Regions from separate parts of the Homo sapiens genome. Here all the other regions are linked to region 1. The links are contacts of gene promoters, found by promoter capture Hi-C in blood cells and fetal thymus (Javierre and others, 2016). All regions are on one chromosome and are shown on one strand. Each heading gives the region's core, a stretch centred on a gene start or on the middle of the fragment in contact. The rest is flanking DNA. Distances are from core to core; before and after follow the strand shown.

The links. Contacts are between HindIII fragments. The CHiCAGO score rates a contact against its expected background, and 5 or more counts as called.
Region 2: a fragment that was not itself captured here is called in contact with the fragment with the promoter of ANAPC7 in region 1 in 2 of 17 cell types (M0 macrophages and monocytes); the score reaches 7.0 in M0 macrophages.
Region 3: a fragment that was not itself captured here is called in contact with the fragment with the promoter of ANAPC7 in region 1 in 1 of 17 cell types (total B cells); the score reaches 5.5 in total B cells.
Region 4: a fragment that was not itself captured here is called in contact with the fragment with the promoter of ANAPC7 in region 1 in 2 of 17 cell types (activated CD4 T cells and naive CD8 T cells); the score reaches 6.1 in activated CD4 T cells.
Region 5: a contact is called between a fragment that was not itself captured here and the fragment with the promoter of ANAPC7 in region 1, in 1 of 17 cell types (M0 macrophages). The highest score is 6.0, in M0 macrophages.

Annotation. Positions count from the first base shown.
Region 1 is chr12:110,402,183-110,405,075 of GRCh38, reverse strand. ANAPC7 (anaphase promoting complex subunit 7) reads left to right here and starts at 1,368. Exons shown (of 11, transcript NM_016238.3): 1 at 1,368-1,549. The coding sequence starts at 1,449. The HindIII fragment of the contact is 41,113 bases long and covers 1-2,893 here.
Region 2 is chr12:110,031,705-110,034,597 of GRCh38, reverse strand. ANKRD13A (ankyrin repeat domain 13A) reads right to left here. Exons shown (of 15, transcript NM_033121.2): 13 at 641-801. Among named protein-coding and RNA genes, the nearest start is that of C12orf76, 15 kb to the left of the region's middle. The HindIII fragment of the contact is 2,080 bases long and covers 480-2,559 here.
Region 3 is chr12:110,732,207-110,735,099 of GRCh38, reverse strand. The region is part of intron 1 of PPP1CC (protein phosphatase 1 catalytic subunit gamma); the gene reads left to right. Among named protein-coding and RNA genes, the nearest start is that of PPP1CC, 9.2 kb to the left of the region's middle. The HindIII fragment of the contact is 476 bases long and covers 1,214-1,689 here.
Region 4 is chr12:110,083,887-110,086,779 of GRCh38, reverse strand. All of the region lies in intron 2 of LOC105369976 (a long non-coding RNA gene), which reads left to right. Among named protein-coding and RNA genes, the nearest start is that of C12orf76, 37 kb to the right of the region's middle. The HindIII fragment of the contact is 542 bases long and covers 1,249-1,790 here.
Region 5 is chr12:110,117,228-110,120,120 of GRCh38, reverse strand. No RefSeq gene overlaps it. Among named protein-coding and RNA genes, the nearest start is that of IFT81, 5.7 kb to the left of the region's middle. RefSeq lists a cis regulatory region at 1,466-1,737. The HindIII fragment of the contact is 4,390 bases long and covers 1-2,893 here.

The sequences.
Region 1 (2,893 bases), core at 119-2,618:
CGTGCTGCTACCATCCTGCCTGCACCCAGGTGAAACAAACAGCCTTGTTGCTCACACAAAGCCTGTTTGGTGGTCTCTTCACACGGACGCACATGACAGTGGTGGCAGGCGCCTGTAATCCCAGCTACTCGGGAAGCTGAGGCAGGGAGAATTCCTTGAACCCGGGTGACAGAGGTTGCAGTGAGCTGAGATTTTGCACTCCAGCCTGGGCGACAAGAGCAAAACTCCGTCTCGAAAAAAAGAAAAAAGAAAAGTTCACAGTGATGATGCCCACCAAAATCAAATAGAAGGTCTCACACATCCAGGAAACTAGAGTAGGGGATGAGATGGGAAAAGGATCTACAGGAGCTTCAACTGTGACAAAATGTTAAGAGCTGAAAAAGTTGCTGATGAAGATACACTGTGATTTTTTCAGAGCATTTTTTTTGCATCTACTACTGTAAAAATCAAATGAAAACAAAATCTAGACCAAAACGACTGTCTCCTTTAAGAAAGGAGCGATAGGCTAGATCTGAGAGGATGACTGTGGAGAATATTCGGACTCTGACTCAACGACCTAAACTGCCTCATTGGCTCAGTTACCTCCCTGGTCCCTGTATACATTTGAGTTTGCGATCCAACATAATTAACCAGTCGATCTGATTCCAAGTCAACCATTTAACAACCTGAGCACAAAATTTAAGCAGGCAGTTTCTTCCCTTGTGGGAAGGGAATGACAACTTCAACTTTATGGATTGTTGTGAGCGTCCCAATAACTTGTGTAAAACTTTCCTAAAACGTTAAGTGTGCCAGACACATACTGGTTTATATGGGTATCAGCTAATTCCTGGATCCAGCCTTTATTTCCACGGATCTAGGGAATAATTTTACATGGGGAAATATACCCCTCGAACCAAGGAGTTCCCCCAGGGCCGAAGCCTGACTTGGCAGGAACACAAAACACCTGAGGAGGGGCGCGGCGGCCCTAGCCTGGTGCGCATGCGCCACTGTAAAGGCCGTTAGGTCTGTCCCTGGCGCCCGATTAGAATATTTAATTCCAGTTGGAGCGTTTTTCCTCACCTTACTGTATTTTATTTCGGTAAATACCCACACATTTTAATTTCTGAGAGGCACAAATTCCTCTCAGACTCATTCAAATTGACCGAGTAGTCTTATAAGGTGCCTTTTGTCTCATTGTAAATCCTCAGTAAAGTTTGCAGTTTAGGATGATAACGTGATTTTTGCGTAAAAATAACAACTCATTTCACCTGAAAAGGACCACGACAGGAGCAGGGACTCGAGTTTCTTTTTATTCGGGCACTTCAGTAGTTACCTCTTGCTTGGGGGTGGTGCCGCGTGTGGACCCGATGGACCCCGGCGACGCCGCCATTTTGGAGTCTTCCCTAAGGATCCTCTACCGGCTTTTCGAGTCAGTGCTGCCGCCGCTGCCCGCGGCTTTGCAGAGCAGGATGAATGTGATAGACCACGTGCGGGACATGGCGGCCGCGGGGCTGCACTCCAACGTGCGGCTCCTCAGCAGCTTGTTACTTACAATGAGTAATAACAACCCGTGAGTTGAGGCGGGTAGCTGCCTGGGGCTGAGGAGAAAGCGGCGGCGGTCTGGGAGCGGGGGCTCAGGGCACGTGGGAACAGGCGGGAAGGAGCGGCCGCCGGCGCCAGCGGAGGCTCCGGGGTCTGCGAGGGCGTCCTGGAGCGGAGCAGACTTCGGAGCGCAAGTTGGGTTCACTGGGTGCCGGCGTCAAGTCCCGCGGGGATGTGGCGAGCGGCGGCTTGGAGACATAGAAGGCAGAGGCTCTGAGGACGACCCAGGCGAGGGTTTCCTGAGGCACCTGTCGCGGGGCAGCGCGACTGTCACATCGCTAGGCTGAATCCTTCCCTCTCGGCTCCTTCCAGAAGAACGTTTTTTTCTCTCGCTGCAGCTCAGGGACCCAGCCTCCTGGTTTTTATGCGCTAGCCCCCGCATCTGAGATTGGTCCCCCCGTTAAGTGTATCAGGAGGGTCCACTTTCTGGCCTTGGGAAACCCCTGAAAACGGGGCCGGGCGCGGTGGCTCACGCCTCTAATACGAGCCCTTTGGGAGGCCGAGGCGGGAGGATCGCTTGAGCCCAGGAGTTCAAGACCAACCTGGGCAACATAGGGAGACCCTGCCTCTACGAAAAGTAAAAATTAAACAATTAGCCGGGCGTGATGGTGCGTGCCTGCGGTCCCAGCTACTCGGGAGGCTGAGGCAGGAGGATCGCTTGAACCCAGGAGGTCGAGGCTGCAGTGAGCCGTGATCGCATCATTGTCCTTTACCGTGGGCGACAGAACGACTGCCTGTCTCAAAAAAAGGAAACGGGAGACTCCATTAATGGGTGGGCGTGGCGCCTTTCATGTTTCCTTGAAGCACTGAGCTGATTCCATCCTTGAGTGCATGTCCCTCTCCTGCTTAATATCCTTTATTGGCCGGGCGTAGTGGCTCATGCCTGTAATCCCAGCACTTTGGGAGGCCGAGGCGGGCGGATCACGAGGTCAGGAGATCGAGATCATCCTGGCTAACACAGTGTAACCCCGTCTCTGCTTAAAAAATACCAAAAAAATTTAGCCAGGCGTGGTGGCGGGCGCCTGTAGTCCCAGCTACTCGGGAGGCTGAGGCAGAAGAATAACGTGAACCCGGGAGGCGGAGCTTGCAGTGAGCCGAAGTAGCACCACTGCACTCCAGCCTGGACGACAGAGCGAGACTCCGTCTCAAAAAAAAAAAAAAATCCTTTATTGCACTTATGAAAATTCTTTCCCATGGCCTCTGAAGGCAAATATCTGCCCTCCACTCTCTGCGACTTCATCTCATTACTCTGTTCACTGCTCTCTAGCCTCCCTGGCTATTCTGTTATTTGTTTTTATTTGTTTATTTATTT
Region 2 (2,893 bases), core at 270-2,769, 370 kb after region 1:
GGGCACAGTGGTGCATGACTTTAGTCCCAGCTACTTGGGAGGCTGAGGTGGGAGGATCTCTTGAACCCAGGAGTTTGAGGGTGCAATATGATCATGCCGGGGAACAGCCACTGCACTCCGACTTGGGCAACATAGAGTCACACACACACACACAAAGCCTACTGCTTACACAGGTCTGTCCTGTCCTTCATTTTCTGTTTCACTAGAGACCCAGAGAGAGTTTAGGGAGATGGTACCCTTTGTGGAGGAAGTGGGATTCAAATCCACTTCACTACCTTCATCCGAGACTACTGACACACAGGTAATCCTTCAGGAAAAATATGATACTGCTTCAGTGCTAGAAAATGATGAAGCACATCTCAAAAAGTACAGAATTACAAGCTATGTGCGTGAATATGAGGAAAAGGAAAGTCTGCCTGAAGACATCTTGTGAATGGTGCTGACTGGGATTATGTAGATGGTCTCTTACATAACAAGCTTTTGTAAGAAGACCAGATGCACAAAGTATAACCTATGCAAATACCATGAATGTGTCAAACTTGATATTTAGAATAAATCTTTCAGATTAGCCAAACACTGAGGCTAACCCAGAGGGTAAGACCTCCCACGCCCTGCCATTAGAGTATTCTGATAAACACACCTGGCTCCTGCTGGACTCCAGCAGACTTTGCTGGATGGCAAACTGCATTATCTCGTAATCTTCATCTTGCAAATGCACATTTCTGCCATTGTCTTGAACATAGTAAGATTCGGGAATTTCAAACACAGATTGATCAACCTCAAAGTTTGTGATGTGGGAAGCTGAAACAAAAGGCAACCGTCCAGTGTCTGAGTTCATTACATTTCCACTCCAACTTTTTGCAAAAATGTTGTACATTAGAAAAAAAAGAAAGGCTCAAAATTATAACAATCAAGGCTTACTATTATATGAGAGATTCTGAGGAAGCATGACAGAAAAAAGTGACAGAATACAGCTTTTTTCTTTTTCCTTGATTTTAGTGGAAACAACGAACACAGTCATAAAAAAATACACAAGACTATAAAATGAAAAGCGCAGATTTCTCCCCCTAAACATATACGCACAGTCACACCAATGTGTTTCTTCCTTTTGCAGGAAGATATATGGTAAATATATAAAAGTATATATAAAATATCTGAACACTTAAAAATGATAATAATTAAACAAATGCCTGTGTGCCCTTCACCTAGCCTAAGACACAGAACACTATCAATAACTGCCGGGCGCGGTGGCTCACGCCTGTAGTCCCAGCACTTTGGGAGGCTGAGGCAGGCAGATCACAAGGTCAGGAGATCGAGACCATCTTGGCTAACATGGTGAAACCCCGTCTCTACTAAAAATACAAAAAAAAAAAAAAATTAGCCGGGCGTGGTGGCGGGCACCTGTAGTCCCAGCTACTCGGGAGGCTGAGGCAGGAGAATGGCATGAACCCGGGAGGCGGAGCTTGCAGTGAGCCAAGATCGCACCACTGCACTCCAGCCTGGGTGACAGAGTAAGACTGTCTCAAAAAAAAAAAAAAAAAAGAAAAAGAAAAAAACACTATCAATACCATACTGCGGGCACATCCCTTGTTAACAATATTCCCTTCTTCCTCTCCAGAGGTAAATACATAATTCAGAATAGTTGTTTACACTGCCTAGCTCTTCTCTGGAGCTTGCCACATGTATATCATCCTAATAGTTTGTATTAGCCTGTTTGTGAACTCGACATAAATGGAATCATGCGGAATTTATTCTTCAAATTGGATTTTCTTCATTCAACATTATGCTTTTGAAATTCAACAGTTTTGACGCACATAGCTATAAATTTTTATTTTCAATACTATATGTTATTCTGTTGTATTAATAGAGCACAATAGCGCATTCTACCATCTCGGGACATTTGGGTCGTTTCCAGGTTTCTGCTGTTATGAATGGATGCTGCTGCCCAGTACTGGGGTCTCCAGATGCTCATGTGCATAACTTTCTTTAGGGTACACATCTAGGAATTGCTAGGTCATCCACATCTTCAGTTTATACAGTAATGCCGAATGTTTTATTCAAGGAACTATACCAATCTCCTCTTCCAGCCAAGAGTGCACGAGTGTTCCTTAGCTGCACAACCTCATGAACACATCTCACCCAACTTTGTTGCTACATGGGAATGTAAAGGTGTATATTATTGTCGAGTTCAATTGTTTTTATTTGAAGTCTTAATTTATATACATTAAAATGCTATCTTTTAATTCCTCCTACTGGTAGACTACAGGGGAGAAACATAGGACCATCATGATAGTTGCAGAAAACACATCTCACAAAAATCAATACTTAAAAATGGTAATAACTCTCAGCAAACTAGAAATATAAGAGAATAATGTCCTCCAACTAATAAGGGACATTTATAAAAAACCTACACAGCTAACATCATACCTAATGGCACAACAATCCTTCCTCCCCTAGAACCAGGAACAAGACAAGGACAGCCATTCCTACCACTCTTACTCAACATTGTACTAGATGTCCTAGCCAGTCCAGTAAGTCAAGAAAAAGAAATGAAAAGCTTAAAGATTAGAAAGGAAAAAGTAAAATTTTCTTTATTAATAGACAACATGACCATATATGTAAGAAATTCTAAGAAATCTACAAAAAAGTGTAAGACAAGTAAATTCAGCCATGTTACAAGATAAACAAGGTCAATCCTGGCCATGCAATTGTGTAAGAAAAAAAAAAGATAAAAAATTTTTAAAAACGATTCAAGGTCAAAATACAAAACTCAATTATATTTCTATATACTAGTAACTGGAAATGAAATTAAGAAAATAAGTCCATTTACAATTGCATCTAAAATCATGAATTGTATTGATGGCAAAGGAGTGTAAGGAAATTTGGGGGCATA
Region 3 (2,893 bases), core at 202-2,701, 330 kb before region 1:
CCTGGCAACAGAGTGAGACTCCATCTCAAAAAAAGAAAGAAAAAAATAGTGAAGTGAATTTGTATGCTTTTGGCTGATATGGCAACTTTTTTTTTTTTTTTTTTTTTCTTGAGATGGAGTCTCACTCTGTCGCCCAGGCTGGAGTGCAGTTGCACGATCTCAGCTCACTGCAACCTCCACCTCCCGGGTTCAAGCGATTCTTCTGCCTCAGCCTCCGCAGTAACCAGCCACCACGCCCAGCCTGATATGACAACTTTTAAGAACTCTCCAGTGTTCACTTGGACTGCCAAGCCCCATTTGAAATCTCTGTTAGACAATTCAACGTGAAATTTAAGAGTAATTCTAGATTTTCATACTTTGAAAAATACTCCAGTAAAGCCTGGTAAGCAAGTGGCCCTATTGTTTTATAATTTTATAGTGCAGAAACAGGCTTTTTGCTCATCAAAAGTATATAGTCTGGGCTGGGCACGGTGGCTCACACCTGTAATCCTGGCACTTTGGGCGCCGAGGCAGTGGATCACCTGAGGTCGGGAGTTCGAGACCAGCCTGACCAATATGGAGAAACCCCATCTGTACTAAAAGTATAAAATTAGCTGGATGTGGTGGCGCATGCCTGTAATCCCAGGTACTCGGGAGGCTGAGGCAGGATAATTGCTTGAACCCGGGAGACGGAGGTTGCAGTGAGCCGAGATCGTGCCATTGCACTCCAGCCTGGGCAACAAGAGTGAAACTCCGTCTCTAAATAAATAAATATATAGTCTGGAATATATGTTTAATTCTAATGCCACCAGTCAACACTACTTAAAGACTTATCCAGATTTCAGTCATGCAACAAATTTTGAGCACCTGCTGTGTGCTGGCTATGGCTGGTGTACACTACAGAGCAGGACTGCTGCTGTGGGTTTACATTCTACCAGTGGGTCCAGATGAGCCGGCAGAAGCAAACTGGCAAGTATAAAACAAATACAAGCATGGTTGAGGGGGTGTGGTGGGTAGTGACCTGATGTTGAGAGAGCCTTTCAAAAAGCATGCAGCAAGCTTGTGAGGGGAGAGGAGATGGATGAGAGAAGCTTTTCTCCAGGGTGAAGTGTGGTATCTGAGCAGAGGCCTGAAGTCTGAGCAGTTGTATGATAACTGATGGAAGATGGTTTTGGCAGTTTCTATCTTTATATAACTTTTTTCTTTCTGCTAATTTTAGGGAATTTAAGAAGCTTTCAGACCATGTTTGTTGATGTTTTTCATAAGCACCATTCTTTAAATACAAATCTTTATTTTCTCTGGAAAAGCTGCATCTAATCTTAATATTAAGAGTAATTTTTAAGGCCAGGTGCAGTGGCTCATGCCTGTAATCCCGGCACTTGGGGGGCCAGAGCAAGAGGATCACTTGAGCCTGGAAGGTTGAGGCTGCAGTAAGCCATGATCATGCCACTGCACTCCAGCCTGGGCACCAGGCTTCTTCAAAAAAGAAGAATTTTTAAATTGTTGTTAGTATTGCTTTTGCTTTTTACTGATCTCTGAATGTCCCCACCCAGAGGACAAACAGAAACAGAATAAAGGAGTTAAAACAAATATAAACTATGTTCAAAGGTGACAGTGGAGAGCGTCCAAAGCCAAAAAAAAAAATTGTTAGCAACATTGATTTCATCTGATGGCATTGACTAACTGCAATAGCATTCATAAAACAAAGCTTGCCATTATATGGTATGAGCTATTTATCGCAGAAATACTCTCCTAGAAGACTTAGAGTCAGCTATTCATTCATAAGTGTGGGACTCTGCTGAAAAAAATTCACGTTGAAACCAGAAGCTTCTAGGATTTCCTTCCTAGCCAAAAATAAAGCTTCCTGCTGGGCAGTCTGCCCAAGTTTTTGGTTAACTTATGGTGAAATCACTAATGATTGGCATTTTCTGGCCAATGAAGTGGGGATCCCATCTTTCACCGGGAGTATTTCCTGAGTTCTAACTCTGTATGTGTGTCTAGAGAGAAAAAAAATTACTTACGAAAAAAACATTTTTGTTGCTCAGTTGCTGTTTTATTAAATATGCATCTGTTTCATATCTTTCCTCGAAGACTATTATTACTATGCTTTTATTGCTTCTTGTTGTATAATATTTTTATCAGAACGAGACTTAGTTACATATTTTGGGGTCCAAAAGTGAACTTTATAACTGTAAAATTAAGGTACATTTAGCAGTTCCGTGCTACTTTATCTGTATCTAATGACTATCCAGTCTGTTACAACTGGAACCAAAACAAAATTTCTTTCCCACAACTACCTACGTGCTGACAAGTGAGTTCTGTTGCAAAGTTTGTACTTTGATAGAAGAACCCTAAGTGCTCTGGTGGTGTGGATGCCCCATGCTGTGCAATGATTTCTTTCTCCCATTATTATCTTATCTGTTCAAATTATTAGGGAACGTGCTTTCTTACAGTATAGCACATGACTGACATCCTTTGCCCTATATAGACATGAGCATAAACACAAATGCAGGCCCAGAAAATGCATGGCAAAATAAGTACAATGAACCAACATTTTCTTAATGAAATGAAAACAACACTAACATTTTTTCATAGGTAAATTAAATCAGAGATCCTCAGGAGGAGATACCCATGGTCCTCTGGAAAACACTGATGGGGGAGGGTTCTGAGTATTTCCAATCCTGTTTCTTTTCTTTTCTTTTCTTTCCTTTTCTTTTTTTTTTTTGAGACGGAGTCTCGCTGTGTTGCCAGGCTGGAGTGCAGTGGCGCGATCTTGGCTCACTGCAACCTCCGCCTCCCGGGTGCAGGCGATTCTCCTGAGTAGCTGGGATTACAGGTGCACGCCATGTTGGCGAGGATGGTCTGGATCTCTTGACCTCATCATGATCTGCCCGCCTCACCCTCCCAAAGTGCT
Region 4 (2,893 bases), core at 270-2,769, 320 kb after region 1:
TGCCTCCCAAAGTGCTGGGATTTCAGGCATGAGCTCCCATGCCCCACTTAGAATGAATTTTGAATGGGCAATTAAGAGTGTCTGCTACACCCCTGAGACTGACAAGCTCTCGGGATTAATGGACACGTGGGAAGGACTGTTTCAAGCGTGCTTCTATTACCAACTAGCAAGTGAGGGGTATGAGTTCCCAAATTCTGGGTCAAAGGTGGCTCACTTACAGATTCTCATTCCAGCCTGTGAGATGGAGTAAAGGAAGAGTGGGGCGTGCTCTTTATTTTTAAGGTCATGACCTCTGCACAAACAGTTCCCTCTACTTCCTGCCCTAAGTAAGCCCTGGCTCTTCCCTGATAGTCCTTGAAGCCCTTACCAGGGAATGGTGGTCCTTCTCCCAACCCCATGGTGTCCTCTGTCCTCCACACCTCTATTACTAGATCCATAGTCCTCCATCTTGAGTAAGTGCTGAGGCTCCTGGCATCTGGCTGTACCACCTTCTGTGCCCTCTCATTGATGATGCCTACTCATCAATCAGTCAACCAACCTATCAACCCTTATTCTCAAAGGGCTTTGGCAACTGGCTTATCCTTCTCACCCCAGTTCCTACTGCCATACTGGTGACTTTAATGACCTAGGACCTGGCCGAACTCCTGGCCCCTCAGCTCCTGTCCCTTCTTATTCCAATGACCTTCACCTCCACTCTGCTTTAGCCACCATTTCCCTGGACCATGTCCTGGACCTTGGTTTCTCCTGGAAAAAATCTTCCTCTAAAGTCTCACATTTCTCTGATCACAGGCTTGCACCTTCTGTTCTTTTGGTCATTCCAGCTTAGCAGTTCTTTGAACTACAGAATCCCTTGGCCCTTCCACTTTCTCCCTCTCAGGACCCTCCTTCCTCCAATTCCTTTCCCATCCAGCCTAGATTCCATGATCTTTGCTATATCCAGGCATGGATGTTGTGAACGACTCCCCGACATCCATTCCAACCCAGATGGTTGGTCCAAGCAGGTCATGGTCATTCCCTGTCTTTTGTCAGGAGAGGAACAGGCGTGTGACTCACTTCTAGCACTAGAGGGTAGAGTGAGGTGGGACGAAAGGGACTCTGGGAAAGATTTTCCCATGAAAGAGACAAAAGAATTGATTATCTTTCTTTCTGAGGACGAACCCAACAACAAGGGTGGCAGTACAGAGAGAAAGAAAGAACCCAGATCCTTGACTATGTTGTCAAGCCACTAAATCAACACACTCTGAAGCTTATCTTGCCCCAGGATATCCTAGTACATGAAATAACCATTTATTTCATATTTAAGCCAGCTTGAGTCAGGCATTCTGCTACTTTCACACAAAAGCACCCTAAATAACATAATTTGCAACTTGTGGCAAAAGCCCAGTCCTGGATCAATGTAAATTTCCTTCCATGATGTTTATACCTGTTCTGGTTAGACTGGTGGAGAAGACAACAGGTCCTCAGTCCTCCAGAAACCTCAGACGTCTCTCTACCCTCCACCATTAGGAGAGCCTTAGTTTTCCTCATCTATCTCCAGCCTTTGTTTAGGGTTGCAGAAGACCTGGGTTGTTATGTAAAATGGCCAGCTATCTTGACTAGGAAACAGGTATTTTTTGAATTTCCCAAGGATAGCATGGGTATTCAGCTTGGGTAGAGAGGAATAGAGGGGAGATCTTGAGGTTTAAATAAACCCAGCATTTATAAGAAGGTAGGGTAGGTATATCCAGATTAAGCTGAGTGAACCAAGTCATTCCCAGTGGCTGAGTTGAGTCAGGGGACAAAGAAAAGCTTTCTGCTCTATGTTGTGGCCTGACAGGGGATGCAAGTCCCAGGAAAGGGTGATCTATGGGCAGAGCAACAGAATCAGCCTTTTGCTGCTGTATCTTGGGCCTGGCTAGTTACAGTCCCAGTAACACATGTTGACACCATAACAAACAGTAGACACCAATGATGACATACCTTAAAATTATGTGAACCACTTGGCAAGTCCTGGTGGGTTGCTGGGTGTGGAGGTGGAAGGCCGTTCCTGTTGGTGGGAAGGCCCCAGGTTGCTCCCATAATCTGTCACTTAGACTGCTGGCAATAACAAATTCATGGTCTCTAATTCTTACCACCACCCGGGAATTCCTGTTTTCCCTGTTGGCGCTCTCCTCCCGTTCACCATAGCAACTATTTTGAATCTTCTTGACACTCATCCCACTTCCCACCCTCTTGCCTTTCCTCTCATTCTCATCAGACAACTCTGCCTCCTATTTCTTTTTCTATTCTTTCCCTCCTTCCTTCCATCCTTCCTTCCTTCCTTTCCTTCCTTCCTTCTTTTTCTTTCTTTCTCTCTTTCTTTTTCTTTTTTTTTTTTTGAGACAGGGTCTTACTCTGTTGCCCAGACTGGGGTGAAGTGGTACAATCATGGCTTACTGCAGTCTTGACCTCCTGAGTTCAAGGTGATCCTCCTACCTCAGCCTCCCAAGTGGCTGGGACTACCCTGCCTCCTATTTCAATATTTGTGTTGAACTCAGGAGTTTGAGACCAGCCTGGCCAACATGGTGAAACCCTGTCTCTACTAAAAAAAATACAAAAATTAGCTGGGGGTGGTGGTGCACGCCTGTAATCCCAGCTACTAAGGAGGCTGAGGCAGGAGAATCCTTTGAACCCAGGAGGTGGAGGTTGCAGTGACCCAAGATCTTGCCACTGCACTCCAGACTGAGCGACAGAGCAAGACTCCATCTCATGGCTCACACCTGTAATCCCAGCACTTTGGGAGGCCGAGGCGGGTGGATCACTTGAGGTCAAGAATTCAAGGCCAGCCTGGCCAACATGGTGAAACCCCATCTCTACTAAAAATACAAAAGTAGCTGAATATGTTGGCACATGCCAATAATCCCAGCTACTTGGG
Region 5 (2,893 bases), core at 204-2,703, 290 kb after region 1:
TTTTTGTTTGTTGTTGTTGTTGTTGTTGTTTTTTAAGGTGGAGTCTCCCTCTGTCTCCCAGGCTGGAGTGCGGTGGCATGATCTTGGCTCACTGCAACCACTGCCTCCTGGGTTCAAACCTCCCGAGTTCAAGCGATTCTCCTGCCTCAGCCTCCTGAGTAGCTGGGACTACAGGTGTGCGCCACCACGCCTGGCTAATTTTTTGTATTTTTAGTTGATACGGGGTTTTGCCATGTTGACCAGGCTGGTCTTGAACTCCTAGCTTCAAGTGATCCACCCACCTCAGCCTCCCGAAGTGCTGGGATTACAGGTGTGAGCCACCATGCCCAGCCCGTCATTCCCTTTTATTGCCAAATAATTCCATTCTATGGATAGACCACATTTTCTTTACGCATTTTCTATTCCTGAACATTTGAGTTGGTTCCACTTTTTTGCTACTATGAATAATCTGCTATGAACATTTGTATACACACTTTCGCCCCCTTATGAATAAGGATTCCATTGCCTAGGTCAGGTGACAGGGTATATACATCAGCAGGACGGGAGAGAGGATTCATTCTTACAGTGTCTCTTCCTTTCAACTTTTGTTAATTTTTGGCCTGTTGGGTACCCATGGTTGTAGATTACAGGACCCAAGATGTGGAGCCTTTAGTAGTTTTTGGTTATAACGGACCTGTTACTGAAACCTACTCATCCCTTGCTACCAAAGCACTAGAATTCCCAATCTGTTTCTCACCAGAAGCCATCTGATAAGAAGATGCTGCTTACATGGATGGGCTTCAAATGTTCACCATCTTCCACTGGAGGAGAGGGTGAGGCAAGGTGAGGAGGAGGTGAGAAAGACTTGAAGCTGCCCCTTCTTATCTCCTTATTTAACTGCGTAGATAATAAGGGGTATCCACAGTTTTGAACCTTTGGTCCGATTATTCAGAGGGGGAAAATTACTCCTGGTAAAGTGTATTTTTCAAGCCTCAGTTTAGTTATAAGATAAAAAATAAAGAGAAGAGGTTTTATCTCATGTAATTGTGAAGTTGTTCTGAGGTGAGCAGGCCTATGCAAACCTACCCCCAAGGTCTGAGGAAGCTGAGAAGTGAAAAAAAGAGGCTGACAATTCCAGCTTCTTAGAAAGAGACATTTAGGCTGGGCACAATGGCTCATGCCTGTAATCCCAGCACTTTAAGAGGCCAAGGCAGGAGGATCACTTGAGGTCAGCGGTTCGAGACCACCCTGGCCAACATGGTAAAACCCTGTCTCTACAAAAAAAATACAAAAATTAGCTGGGCGTGGTGGCAGGTGCCTGTAATCCCAGCTACTTGGGAGGCTGAGGCAGGAGAATCGCCTGAACCCAGGAGGCGGAGGTTGCAGTGAGCTGAGATCTTACTGCTGCATTCCAGCCTGGGTGAGAGAGTGAGATCCTGTCTCAAATAAAAAAAAAAAAAAAAGAAAAAGAAAAGAAAAAGAAAAAAAGTAGAACTTTTAATCCAATAGTTTCAGCAAATTTCCAGGGCTCACTCTCATTGGTCTGAAGTGTGTCAGACCCAAAGGAAGTGCTGGATCCTCTTATCAGAGATAGAGATGCTATGCAAACAAGACCAGTAGATCAGGGAAGACCAGGTGGTCAGGGAAGGCTGGTAAATCTGGAAAGCTGCATAAGAAAAACCGGAAGAGGAAGGAATGAGCCTGCACTCGTGGCAGAGAGCATCTGTATCAATGAGAACCTTCTCCCTGATTTCCTTCCACGAATTATCTTTCTTCAATGTGGTCTTCCACTGTGGGCCAAACAAGGTCTTGGGATAACCCAGCAGACCTCTCCGGATCCCCCACAAACATCTGAGGATGGCCATGAATATAATGTCTCCAATCCCTTCTCATTTCAGAACTTCCAAACAAGAACTTTCCTGTGCAGAGTACAGGGAAGCCAAGCCAATTTTCTGTTTTTGGTATTAAATTTAGACCTTTCATCCTGACCATGAGATATTTCTGGATTCTGCACGAGTATTCAGCGAGTGCCAGGATTCAAGATGCTATCCCATCTGGGGCTATTCTGCAGGCTGCCCACTTTATCTCATTCTTTTAAAACTGGGAAAAATGACCCAGACGCAGAAACAAATTCAGAAGAGGGTTATTCTGTTATCCATTAATTGTCATTTAATGCCTTTGCCATCCAGGTTACTTGGAGAGGAAAGAAATTAAATTTGAACGGAAACCTGAATTGCATTTTGCAGATATCCTAAATTGTCTCTGTTCTGACAATTTAATCTTGTGGGTATGTTTAGTAGCAGAATGTGCTTTCTTAAAAGGTAAAAAGATAAATAATATGTGAAATACTCAACTTAAATGGATGAGATTCCAGAGGTCTTCTTAAATGTGTGCCTGGTACTATATTTTTCTCAGATGGCTTTTATAAAATGGGTTTTGTATTTATAAATGTGCTATGGTTCACAAAGGCTGGAAATTGCTGATGAGATTAATGGGCAATGTAGAATAGCCAAAATAATACGCAATTCATATTAACTCCTTAGTCATCAGTATGGATTGAAATATAGGATGCATCTAACTTTTTTTTTTCAGTGACACGATGTCACTCTGTCACCCACGCTGGAATGCAGTGGCGTGATCATAACTCACTGCAGCCTGTACCTCCCGGCCTCAGCCTCCCGAAAAGTTGGGACTACAGGTGGCGCCACCATATCCAGCTAATTTTTTTTTTTTTTTTTTTTTTTTTTTTTTAGAGATGAGGTCTCACTATGTTGCTCAGGCTGGTCTCAAACTCCTGACCTCAAGTGAGCCGCCCACCTTGGCCTCCCAAAGTGCTGAGATTACAGGTGTGAGCCACCGTGCCTAGCCAGGATGCACCTAACATTCTTAGTGGGCTGAAATTATCATTATATCA